2 separate regions of the Homo sapiens genome follow, and region 2 is linked to region 1. The links are contacts of gene promoters, found by promoter capture Hi-C in blood cells and fetal thymus (Javierre and others, 2016). All regions are on one chromosome and are shown on one strand. Each heading gives the region's core, a stretch centred on a gene start or on the middle of the fragment in contact. The rest is flanking DNA. Distances are from core to core; before and after follow the strand shown. Region 1 holds the start of TGFBR2 (transforming growth factor beta receptor 2). Region 2 has its middle 71 kb from the start of MIR466.

Region 1 (5,646 bases), core at 177-2,676:
CAAAGTTGCAGTGAGCCGAGATTGCGCCACTGCACTCCAGCCTGGTGACAGAGCGAGACTCCGTCTCCAAAAAAAAAAAATCTAACTTTTGAAGTCTCAGAGGTTTTACACTTTCCATAACAAATAGTTAAGAACCCCCATTCCTGCATGCATATATATATTAATATTATATATATTTATATATATAATTATATATATATTTATATATATATAATATATATATATATTTTTTTATTTTTATTTTTTCCTTAAAAACCTTCAGAGACAGCGATCAGGTGGGTAGCCTAGTTAGGATTTTAACCCTTCGGTTTCCAACAAACGATAATTGCATAGAACCATCAACTCCCTGAAGACAGGACTATCTTGTTCCAGGCAAAATCTACAGCCTCTAGCACCCAGTAGGCATTCAGTGAGGGATTCTCGGTTTCACCTGAGCATCTCCACTCCCTATCCATCCATGCCAAGGCGTCAGTGGAGCCAGCTAACTTTCTTTTGGAAATCGATTATTTTCTTGAAACTTGTTTCCAAAAACTCCGGGCCAAGAAGCCGGCCTGAGGGAAAGCGTGGCCGTCTCCAGGAGCTAAGGACTGAGGAGCTGGCCTTTTGAACGGGTGGCTCAGAAAGAGCTGGGTGGGCACGCGGCATCGCCATGGGCGGAGTGGCCCAGGTGCGCTGGCTGCTTTGGCAGCTCAGGCTGCCGCTCCGGGCCGCTGCTCCCCGGCCGCCTTCAGATAACCAACTTCTCAAACTTCCCTTTCCGGGGGTGGGGGCTCGCCTCGAACGCGGCCAACACAACGCCTTTCCTGCTCGCACAAAGGGGACCAAACGTGCCCCGCGCCCCTTGCAACTGAACTTTCCTTCTCTTTTTCAAGAAAAACTCACAATCCCTGCAGCTACGGGAGTCGGGCTGCGTGAGTGTCGCGGGGGAAACTTTCCTCGTTTCCGCCCGGGGGCCGGGTTGCCGGGCCCGACTGTCAAGCGCAGCGGAGAGGCGGGGACCCCAGGAAGACCCCCGGCGCCCCGCCGAGCCCGGGCTGGGGACCACTCACCCGACTTCTGAACGTGCGGTGGGATCGTGCTGGCGATACGCGTCCACAGGACGATGTGCAGCGGCCACAGGCCCCTGAGCAGCCCCCGACCCATGGCAGACCCCGCTGCTCGTCATAGACCGAGCCCCCAGCGCAGCGGACGGCGCCTTCCCGGACCCCTGGCTGCGCCTCCGCGCCGCGCCCTCTCCGGACCCCGCGCCGGGCCGGCAGCGCAGATGTGCGGGCCAGATGTGGCGCCCGCTCGCCAGCCAGGAGGGGGCCTGGAGGCCGGCGAGGCGCGGGGAGGCCCCCGGCGGCCGAGGGAAGCTGCACAGGAGTCCGGCTCCTGTCCCGAGCGGGTGCACGCGCGGGGGTGTCGTCGCTCCGTGCGCGCGAGTGACTCACTCAACTTCAACTCAGCGCTGCGGGGGAAACAGGAAACTCCTCGCCAACAGCTGGGCAGGACCTCTCTCCGCCCGAGAGCCTTCTCCCTCTCCTCGACGTCCAGCCCCTAGCTCTCTCGTAGCTGCCAATCATGTTTCCTAGACCAGCCCCTCCGAGAGCTTTGGCCGACTTTCAGCTGCCCCTCACCGCCCTCCCACACCACTCAGGAGTTCCTCGCTCCAAGTATTTACTCAAGAATGACTAAGTGCACACAGTTCACAAAGTAACAACAGAAAACGTCCACGTTTTCCCTAGTAGATCAGAACATCTGCCGCCTCCCCTCAGCTTTCTTCAGATTGCTCCTAGGTGCTTTAGAGATGCGTTTTCAAATTGCAAGTTGAGATCCAGGAGTGAATACTCCAATCTATTGAGTCGCGAGCACATTTCTTTCCCAAATAAAATAGTAACGGTAAATTCTACTTCATTAAATTTGTGCTTCAGTTGTGTCTATATGCATGTATGTATGTGCATACACTGTCAAGTTGTAAAATGTTTTTCTTTAGGTCGAAGTCTAGAGGTTTTTCTCAAGTTTTAATGTACATATTGATCACCTGGAAATCTTATTTAAAAATGCAGATTCTAATTCAGTAGGTCTAGGAGGCAGGCAGAGATTCTGCATTTCTAATGAGCACCTGGATAGAGCGTCCCATTTTGCACCGCCTCTTCCCGGGACTGAGTCAGTGAGTAATTGTAAATGATCACCTATCACGAAGTGATAGTGGTGGGAAATGTAATTTTCAGAATGTATAGAGTATAGCAGAAACTGTAAAATTAAAAGTGGGTTGGGAGTCACCTGAATGCTTGTGCTTTTATTCCCTTAATGCAGGTGAAGAAAGAGAATACTTACCCTCTCATGTGCAAACGGGGTAACATGGGAGCAGAACAGTATAAACTTTCAAATTTCCTTTCTTGCTAGGGCAACCAGATTTGCCCAAGACATTCCTGGTGTACATGTTTTGTAGTTTAAATATTAATAGAACCCCCTTTCTCTTTCAGATATGTCCTGATTGGATAATAAACTATGTGATCAACCTACTTCCCACTCTCAAAGATATGATTCTGTACAGCCCTCTGGTCAGTAGATCTTCTAGCAATTCATTTAATGAATTCCTTTACCTGAGAGGAAGATTGCAGAGGCAAGGGTTTGTGCCAGGGTCTCCAGGGAATAAAGGTAAATAGCCCTCCCCCAAACCCAACTCCCAAATCTTTCCTGTCATTCTAAGTGTTCATTTGCTTCATCCTGGAATTTTAACTCATGCTCCACCTAGCACCCAAGCTGCCTCTGGATGTTTTGCCACTTCCCAGTACTCATGTTGAAGATGCAGAAAGTGCAGTGAAATCAGGAGGGCTAGGCATCTTCTTTCCCACCAATTAATTGCCTTGCCAAAGCTGGAGTGACTTTGTCAATGGAGGAAGATTGAGTTCCAAATCTTCTCCCTATTCCCTCTTCTGCCACCAGCCCATGCCACTGCCATGGCTTGTGTAGGAGTCTCCCACGAGTCACCCTCAGCCACGGCCGTTCTGGGCTCTTTCACTCAGTTTCTCAAACGAGAGCTGAATTCAGCTTTTCAAAATACAAAACTAGTTATACCAACCCTCTGATTAAAATCATTTAATGGCTTCCCACTGCTCTTGAGATAAAGAGAAGATAAAAACCAGATCCTTGAACGTGTCTTCAAGCCTCCAACTCTCCCGTAAACTTTCATTTGGCTTCTCCTTGCTTACTGAAAGCCTTCTCCAAATTTCGTGAATATGCCTCTGTAATCCTCCTACCCTTTATGCTTAGAGCCTTCCCCAGTGTGGACTTCCTTCCTCTGACCTTTTTTTCTTCACCCAGCCAACTCCTGGTCTTCGTGGATTGAATCATAACTTCTTTGATGGGCAAGCTTTCCCTCACCTCCATGAGTAGATCTTGTATTACACGTTCTCTTGGCACCATATGCTTTTCTTTTAACAGCTGTAACTTTATAATTATTTGTGTCATTCTTTAATTTATATTTCTATCCTCCACTCAACTCCAAATTTCTTGAGGGCAGGTATTATGTATCTTTCCCTCCACTTACTATTGTGTCCCTAAGCATCAAACACATAATCGATGTTTAATAAATATTTGTTGGATGAATGAATGAATCAGGCAATAAAGATTTAGAAGAAAATTGTATTTGATTGTTCTAGTTGCTTCATAACTCTGGAGAAAACATTGTTACCGAATATTTGAGATATAAACAGACTACATTTTAGCCGAGAATGATGTCACCACTACTTCCTTTTCTTAAGAATGGAGAAGTATGTGGGTTTCTTTCTTCTTCTTTTTTTTTTCCTACATTTGCCCAAGTTCCTCCAGATAGCAAACATGTACTTTCTTTCTCCTGAAAACACAATGTGGCAAATAAATGTCCAATAGATTCCAAAAGCTTTGTTTTCCTTAATTATCACAAAGATGTTTTACATTGTTGGAGGCTAGATATTTAAATCTATGGTGGAATGTTTAACTGGTGGTCTTTGCCATGATACATCATTAATGTTGATTTTAATTTTGTTTGCCCTTAACATTTCTGATTTAATCTCCAGTCTCCTGTGAAATTGAGAAGAATCAGAATTCAGCATTGCCAAGTGCAAGCTAGCCTTTTGAAAATCATCATAATAAAAATAATAGATGTGTAAACTCATGCATATTGCAATTTGATAATTTTAAAAATTCATCAGGCTGAGTGCAGTGGTCCACACCTGTAATCCCAGCACTTTGGGAGGTCTAGATGGGAGGATTACTTGAGCCCAGGAGTTCGAGACCAGCCTAAGCAACATAGTGAGATTTCATCTTTACTAAAAAAAAAAAAAAAAAAAAAAAAGCCAGGCATGTTGGCATGTATCTATAGTGCCAACTACTCAGGAGGCTGAGGTGGGAGAATCACTTGAGCCCAGGAGACGAACGCTGCAGTGAGCCATGATTGTGCCACTGCACTTCAGCCTAGAAGACAGAATGAGACCCTGTCTCAAAAACAAAAAATAAATAAAAGAAAAAGAAAAAAAAATTGTCATGATGCCCTTCCTTTTGAAATTCTTGTTGAAAGGGATGTCTGATACCCTTAATCAAGACATCATTTTCACACATAGTTGTATATTTGGCTTAGTATAATATTTTGTGTATTCACATAAGCAGTTAATATATACATGTAAAAAACTGGGCCATTTGCAAATGGGAACAAAAAAATAATAGCCCGACTCAGGGTTTAAAAAACAAGGAAGGTAACGTTTAAGCCCTTAATGAGTTGAAAAACAATAAATATCAACTTGAACAGAAATTTTAAAAGCTGACAATCTATTTTACCAGCTTTTTAAACTCTGCACGCACACACAAACACACACAATTGAACTGAATCAAATTGTGGTTTATTTAAACGTTGGGTTTCTCAGTTGTGATGAGAGAAGAACTTCCTACTCCCCTGAGCTTTGTGACATGCAGCTGTTGAGGTTACTGTCAGCTAGAGCAGTTAACAGGGAGATTCCTCTCCTTATAAATTAACCAGCCTCATTCTCAGCTCTTATCTCTTGACCAATTTTCCTTTTATTGTGAAGCAAACCAATAAGCACTGAGACTGTAGTTAATTTGTGAGGGTCATCCACCCTTTGTGGGTCATCCATGATGCTACCTCCTCCAGGAAATATTTTGTGATGCTTCACCTACTGTGATCACTCCTTTCCCAGGGATAACCCAGGGAACATTTCGTTTATTTAGCCTTTTTTTAAAAAAAAATGTTTGCCCCATTCTAACATGGAGTACATTATTGTTATTTATTTGCTTTTTAGAATTCTACCCTAATGATTGTAAAGCCCTTAAAAGCACAAAATATTCCTTTTTCAATGTAGAACCACACTCCGTGCTCTACAGATAATCAGTATTCAGTGTGTGTTTCTTGTCTTCAATAGAGAGAAAAATAAGAATATCAGTTTTCCTAATCCATTCTCTTGTTTGCAGTTCTTCACAGATATTAATAGAACCTGCAATTATGCCACATGTTTACAGAAAGCATCAATAGTATGTTTTGAAAAAAATAACTTTTTGAAAATTACAAGGGTAATACGTGTTAATTATAGGTAGGAAATTTAGATTTTTTTTTTAAAGGCAGACTTTAAAAGGATTCTTAACCCTATTATCCAAAGATAATCCTTGTTA
Region 2 (5,498 bases), core at 2,999-5,498, 620 kb before region 1:
CACAAATATGACTTGTTTGGCAAATAAAGAGTCAGTGATCCTGAGCCAATGCAGAAGGATGGTACTTAGCAGTTAGCAACTGTTGTTAAGGTTTTTGTGGTGCCCCACTGCCACAGGTCCAGCGAGAGAGGATCACAACAGATGCCCAAGTCCTAATTGCTTTCCCTGGTTGTCATCTTCATACATAAATAAATTAGCAGCCCAGCCCTTGACACTGATGGTATGAGTGGCTCACCCTGAGCAGCTGTTACAGAGTGTCTCTGATATTAATCACACACTCCCTCCAATGGCAGTGACCTTAGGGTGAAAATGCCTTGCTCTTGTTCCAGCAACTGAGGAGCAGTCAGTCTCACAGAGCGAGTATATACTTGTGCTGGGGAGAGTGAAGCTTTGATTCTTATCATTATGATAATCACAATAATAACATTTTTATATCACATTAGGGTTTACAAGCATTTTACATTTGTGATCACCATTGAGCCTCAACAATGTTTTGAGGTAGAAAAAAATGGTTATCTCCACTTATGATAGAAAAACCCAAATTCAGAGAGATTACTGGCCCTAAGATCCTAAAGCTGGAAAATGAAATCTTTCACCCAGCAAGTCTAGCACTGTCTGCATTATATTATCCTCTTTCTTTAAATGATAAGTAACTGCCTCTAGTTCTCCCCTTTGATGCTGAAGTGAATTGACTCAGAAATGTTAAAATATGCACAACAATTCTTGATTAAATGCTCACTATACCCCACGTACTGTGCTAAATGCATCACAGCCAGAATATCATCTAATCCTCACCCAACTCTACTAGGTAAGTATCTGTGTCTTTCTTTAGAGATGAAACAAACTGAGGTTCAGAGAGGTTAATAACTTGCCCAAGGACACACAGAGTTCAAGCATTCAACTGCAATTCTATACTGCTAGCCTCAGAAAATACTAGTGACTGAGAGCCAGCAATACCACTGCACAAGGCAGAGGACTGCTTTTTCATGGTTGGATAGAAGAAAGGGGAAGCTGCCTCTGGCCTCTGGAATCAAGGGTTGCTTCACTTCAGCTTACTGCACTGACCGAGAGTTTATTTCTATAATTTCAAGAGGAGAGTTGTAAACCCAGTGCGGTGGAGGTTGCTGGGGATACAGTAGAGGAGCAATGGAACGTTTCATAAGTGCATGGTAGAACATGCATGGCTCTCACGCTCCTGCCCTAGTCCTGCCGCCTGCTGCGTGTGAAGTGTCCCCTCCCACTGCATTGCCCCCTTGTGAGGCAGGTACAGCTGGGAGCTAGACTCTTATGCTTGCCACATCACCTCTGACTTTAGCTGTGGCTGGGGTGCACAGTTCAGAGCCCAGCTTTGTGCTTCCTGCCCAGAGTGTCTGGCTTCCAGCACATATCTTATATTTCTGCTTTCTGTCCCAGGGATTCCCTGATACCAGGGATGCCTGAGGGAGCTCAGAAGACCCATACATCATTGGAGAGGGGGCAGAAGAACTCTGGGGAAATGCTCTTTCACCTCTCCTTGTGAGAGCACAGTGGCAACCCCCACAATAAACCTTTATTTTGTCTTTTTTTTTTTCTGTTGCTGTACCCCATTCTTTGCTCCTTGGGATCACCTTAGAAATAACCTACCTGCATCTAGATTCTTGTCTCAGGTCATGCTATTGGGAGGAACTCAAACTAAGAAAACATATTTCTTTTCTAACAGCCTTTATGGTGTCATTCACACGTTATGTCTTCTAAACAGGGTGGCCAAATTGTGTGGTAATTATGGTCTGCATTTGAATTCTGGCTTCTGTGAGATCTTGAACAAGTTACATAACTTCTCTGAACCTCAGTGTCTTATTTGCAAAAGGAGAATTGAAGTAATACCTTCTTCACTGTGTATTTTTGTTGTTGTTGTTGTTGAGATGGAGTCTCGCTCTGTCTCTCAGGTTGGAGTGCAGTGGCGCGATCTCGGCTCACTGCAAGCTCCGCCTCTCGGGTTCAGGCCATTCTCCTGCCTCAGCCTCCGGAGCAGCTGGGACTACAGGCACCCGCCACCAAGCCCGGCTAATTTTTTGTATTTTTAGTAGAGACGGGTTTCCCCATGTTAGCCAGGATGGTCTCGATCTCCTGACCTCGTGATCCGCCCGCCTTGGCCTCCCAAAGTGCTGGGACTACAGGCGTGAGCCACCGCACCTGGCCAAATTTTATGTGTGTTAAATGCATGGGGCAGTGTCTAGTGTTCAGTAAATGCCAGTGTTGGTCCAGTTACTGTCTACTATGGTAATAAACACAGGTTTTGGAGTGGGAGGGGTTTGTCTGCATCCAGTGTCATTTACTTGGTGTCCTGTAGCCTTTGGTAAGTTTCCTTTCTTTGTCTCCCTTATGTATACAACGAGGCTAATAAGACTGGCTACATCATGGGGTGTAAGAGTTAGCTAATACATAGTCTGGTGCATAATAGCAGGATTTCAGTATTAAATGTAGCTGTTATTGAAATAACAGTTTCTAGTTGGATTTAATGGCTTCCTCCTCTGTAATCTTTTCATACTTCCTCATATAACTTCTAATGGAGTTACTGCGCACTTCCCTGTCTCTCCCCCAAGACTATGAGCTTCTTAAGGGAAGGGGTTATGAGTCATTTCTCCCTGAAGCATCTGGTATTGTACCATGACTTTCAGGCAAGACGATTAAAGACAGTTTTAGTAGAGAGTCAGAAGAAGCGCTTTTGGGAAGCACTCTAGTTTGGCTACCTCAGTGAATAAGAAAACTGTAGTTCCAGAGTTCCAGAAACATTAACTGAGCACTGGCAAATGCCATTGACAGGGCAGGCAGAAGGCAAATGAGAAGTAGCTGAGAGGAACTGGCCTCATTCGGCTAGTGGCTTAAGGCGGTCTTGGTTAAAGAGGCTTTTCCTGGAGAGGCAACAGGGTTGTGGAAGCGGAAGTGCTAGCCACTAGTGTTGGTGAAAGTCAGATGCATCTTCTAGGAAGCACTTAAGGCTTTTCAGAGGCAGGATTGTCAGCTCAACCATGGCTTTCCCTGAAAAAGAGACCGAGGGCATGCAGGGGAGCTGGAGGGGGGCCTCTGTGTGACACCTGGGCATGGGGCTGTCCTGGCCGTGAGGGGTGGGGTGAGGGCGGAGGGTCAGAGGAAGCTCTCTCTAACCTTATTTCCCTTTAGTTTCTCATGGGACTACACCCTCAACATCAAGTCAGATGAGGGCAAACATGCCCTGGAGAGAGGAAATCACAGAATTTGGTTGTGTGGCTGAAGAGGGTAGTACAAGGGTGGAGAGGGACAGCAGCGTGGACTGGCAGGTAGCAGAGAGCTGGGTCTGCAGAAGAACTTCGGCATCTGCTCGGGGCTGACAAGAGGAGTTGGCTTCTTTGCTATCTGTCCTGCATAGCTGACCAGCAGGCCAAACTTACTGCAGCTTGTGGCTGGAGTGTTAGCCCTGATTTGCCTCAAGGATTCCAAGGGAGATTCATTTCCTCCTATTTTCTCTTGGGCCTCCATTCCCCTCAACACAAACCTTCTCAGCTAATCCCTCTGTGCTGGCTTCAGAAGAAACTGAGAGATTGGTGGCAAGGAGGGTTGGAAGCCAGAGGTGGTTTCTCCAAGTTGGGGATTGTGGTGTTTGAGGCATTGCCTTCCGTCTTTGGGGCAGACTGGGAACTTTGGTAGGGGGTAGCTGAGAACTGCTGCTCTACTTCATCTCTGATCATAGTGGAAACACAGGGATGGGACGTGGCTAAGGGGTCATCTTATCCAGACACCTATGCAATGCAGGATTCCACTTAATGGCTTCTTGTACAATGACTTAAGGCTCACTCCCTCTGGAAATTATCTTGGCTGAATATTTCCACCCTGCCCCCCCTCCCTCCAACAACTCTTTTCAGTTTCTTCTTACCCATCTGGCCACTCCTTAGTTTCCCCCCAATTTCCTTTTGCATGTTGGTGTTGCTGGATCTTTGTCCTTGGTCTTCCCACTGACTTCAACTGCCTCTTACAGATCCATGACCTCCAGTTCTATAGTGCCAGTCCTGATTACTCTGTTCCCTGGATGTCCTTTATGCCTCCAAACATGGCACAGCCAAAACTCCTCCCCCAGATGTTCCTCTTCTGAATTCCCCAGCTCAGTGAATGGAGTCATTTTTCACCCAGTTTGCCTAGTCCAAAATCTGGGTGCAATCAGCTACTCTCTTAAATACCGCCCCGCCTCCCCCCCACCCCCCACTGACCCCACCGCTGCCCCCTGACCCTCACCCCCAATAGTCTCACACACTCCCCAGCACCTCCACAGATACATGTCACCAGATGTGCTGATTAATTTCCAGGTGCCCTCCAGGCCCATCTCCCTCCTTGTCCTCCCTGCTCTGTGCCCCAGGAGGCTGACTTCTGGGCTGCGTCATCCAGGATCTATTGCCCTCCTGTTCTGGGTTGGGTTCTGTCAATGGGAGGTCCTGGGAAGATAAATAAGTTGATGCATTTATTATTCCTGCCCCTTCCCTACTGGGCTGTGGTTTGGCAGTGACTGCATTTCTTCCCCTAAGGTCTTGGCTCCTGTGAGCCTGCCCTCTCCCAGGAGTTCAGTCCTTTCTAAGTTCCAATAACCACTGCCTCCCCTTGCCCCTTCAGGTCTAGGGCTGGTAACAGCTTCCTGCTGTTGTTAGTGCTTCTGTGTGATTGTCCCTTTTGGTGCTTGTAACCCTGCCTACACTTTTCTGTGTATTGTCCCTTTAGTAAACTTTCTGCAGCTATATCTTTAAGCACCCTGGATGTTTCTTGCTAGGATGCTGCCAGATATATCAGGTCATGACATTACTATCTCCTTCATCTTCTTCAACTCTAACTTTGACTATTTAAAAAACAGGAAACTGGTTTTCTAAAACGAAATCACAAACAGTTCCAGGCAATAGTTCCAGCCACATGCCTCATTATTGTATCTGACCTGACTGTCTTGTGGTTCTTCTCATCAGTATGACGTAGAATTATTAGTCCCATACTTTGGCTTTGTTTCCTGCCTCAGGTAGCATTGATGGCCCTCCATACTTCCCTTCAAGTTTCCTACAGGGTGTTCACATGTACTCATTCCCTTGGATGCTTGCCTTCTCTGTAATATACAAAGTATGGGGCATGCACCATCAAAGCTGGCTTCATGGGTGTGAGGTCCTACACTTAGAAGGGCTCAGTGCTTGGGTTCTTGCTCTTCTGTTACTGTCTTGAAACTATTAATAATTTTCTTAAATTTATTTTTAATTTTTTGTGAGTATATAGCAGGTGTATGTATTTATGGAGTACATGAGTTCTTTTGATATAGGCGTGCAATGCTTAATAATCACATCATGGATATTGGGGTATCTATCTCCTCAGCATTTATCCTTTGTGTTATAACAATCCAATTATACTATTTTAGTTATTTTAAAATGTACAATTAAATTATTGTCAAATATAGTCAGCCTGTTGTGCTATTAAATACTAGGTCTTATTCATTCTATGTTTTTTTTGTACTCATTAAC

What was found. Contacts are between HindIII fragments. The CHiCAGO score rates a contact against its expected background, and 5 or more counts as called.
Region 2: a fragment that was not itself captured here is called in contact with the fragment with the promoter of TGFBR2 in region 1 in 4 of 17 cell types (total B cells, non-activated CD4 T cells, monocytes and 1 more); the score reaches 10.2 in total B cells.

The regions. Positions count from the first base shown.
Region 1 is chr3:30,602,381-30,608,026 of GRCh38, reverse strand. It overlaps TGFBR2 (transforming growth factor beta receptor 2), which reads right to left and starts at 1,426. Exons shown (of 7, transcript NM_003242.6): 1 at 1,050-1,426. The coding sequence starts at 1,143. It overlaps LOC105377015 (translation initiation factor IF-2-like), which reads left to right and starts at 1,103. Exons shown (of 2, transcript XM_047449400.1): 1 at 1,103-1,881; 2 at 2,469-3,628. The coding sequence starts at 1,103. The coding sequence ends at 1,543. RefSeq lists a silencer at 1,253-1,352. The HindIII fragment of the contact is 4,009 bases long and covers 1-3,360 here.
Region 2 is chr3:31,229,998-31,235,495 of GRCh38, reverse strand. No RefSeq gene overlaps it. Among named protein-coding and RNA genes, the nearest start is that of MIR466, 71 kb to the right of the region's middle. The HindIII fragment of the contact is 7,716 bases long and covers 391-5,498 here.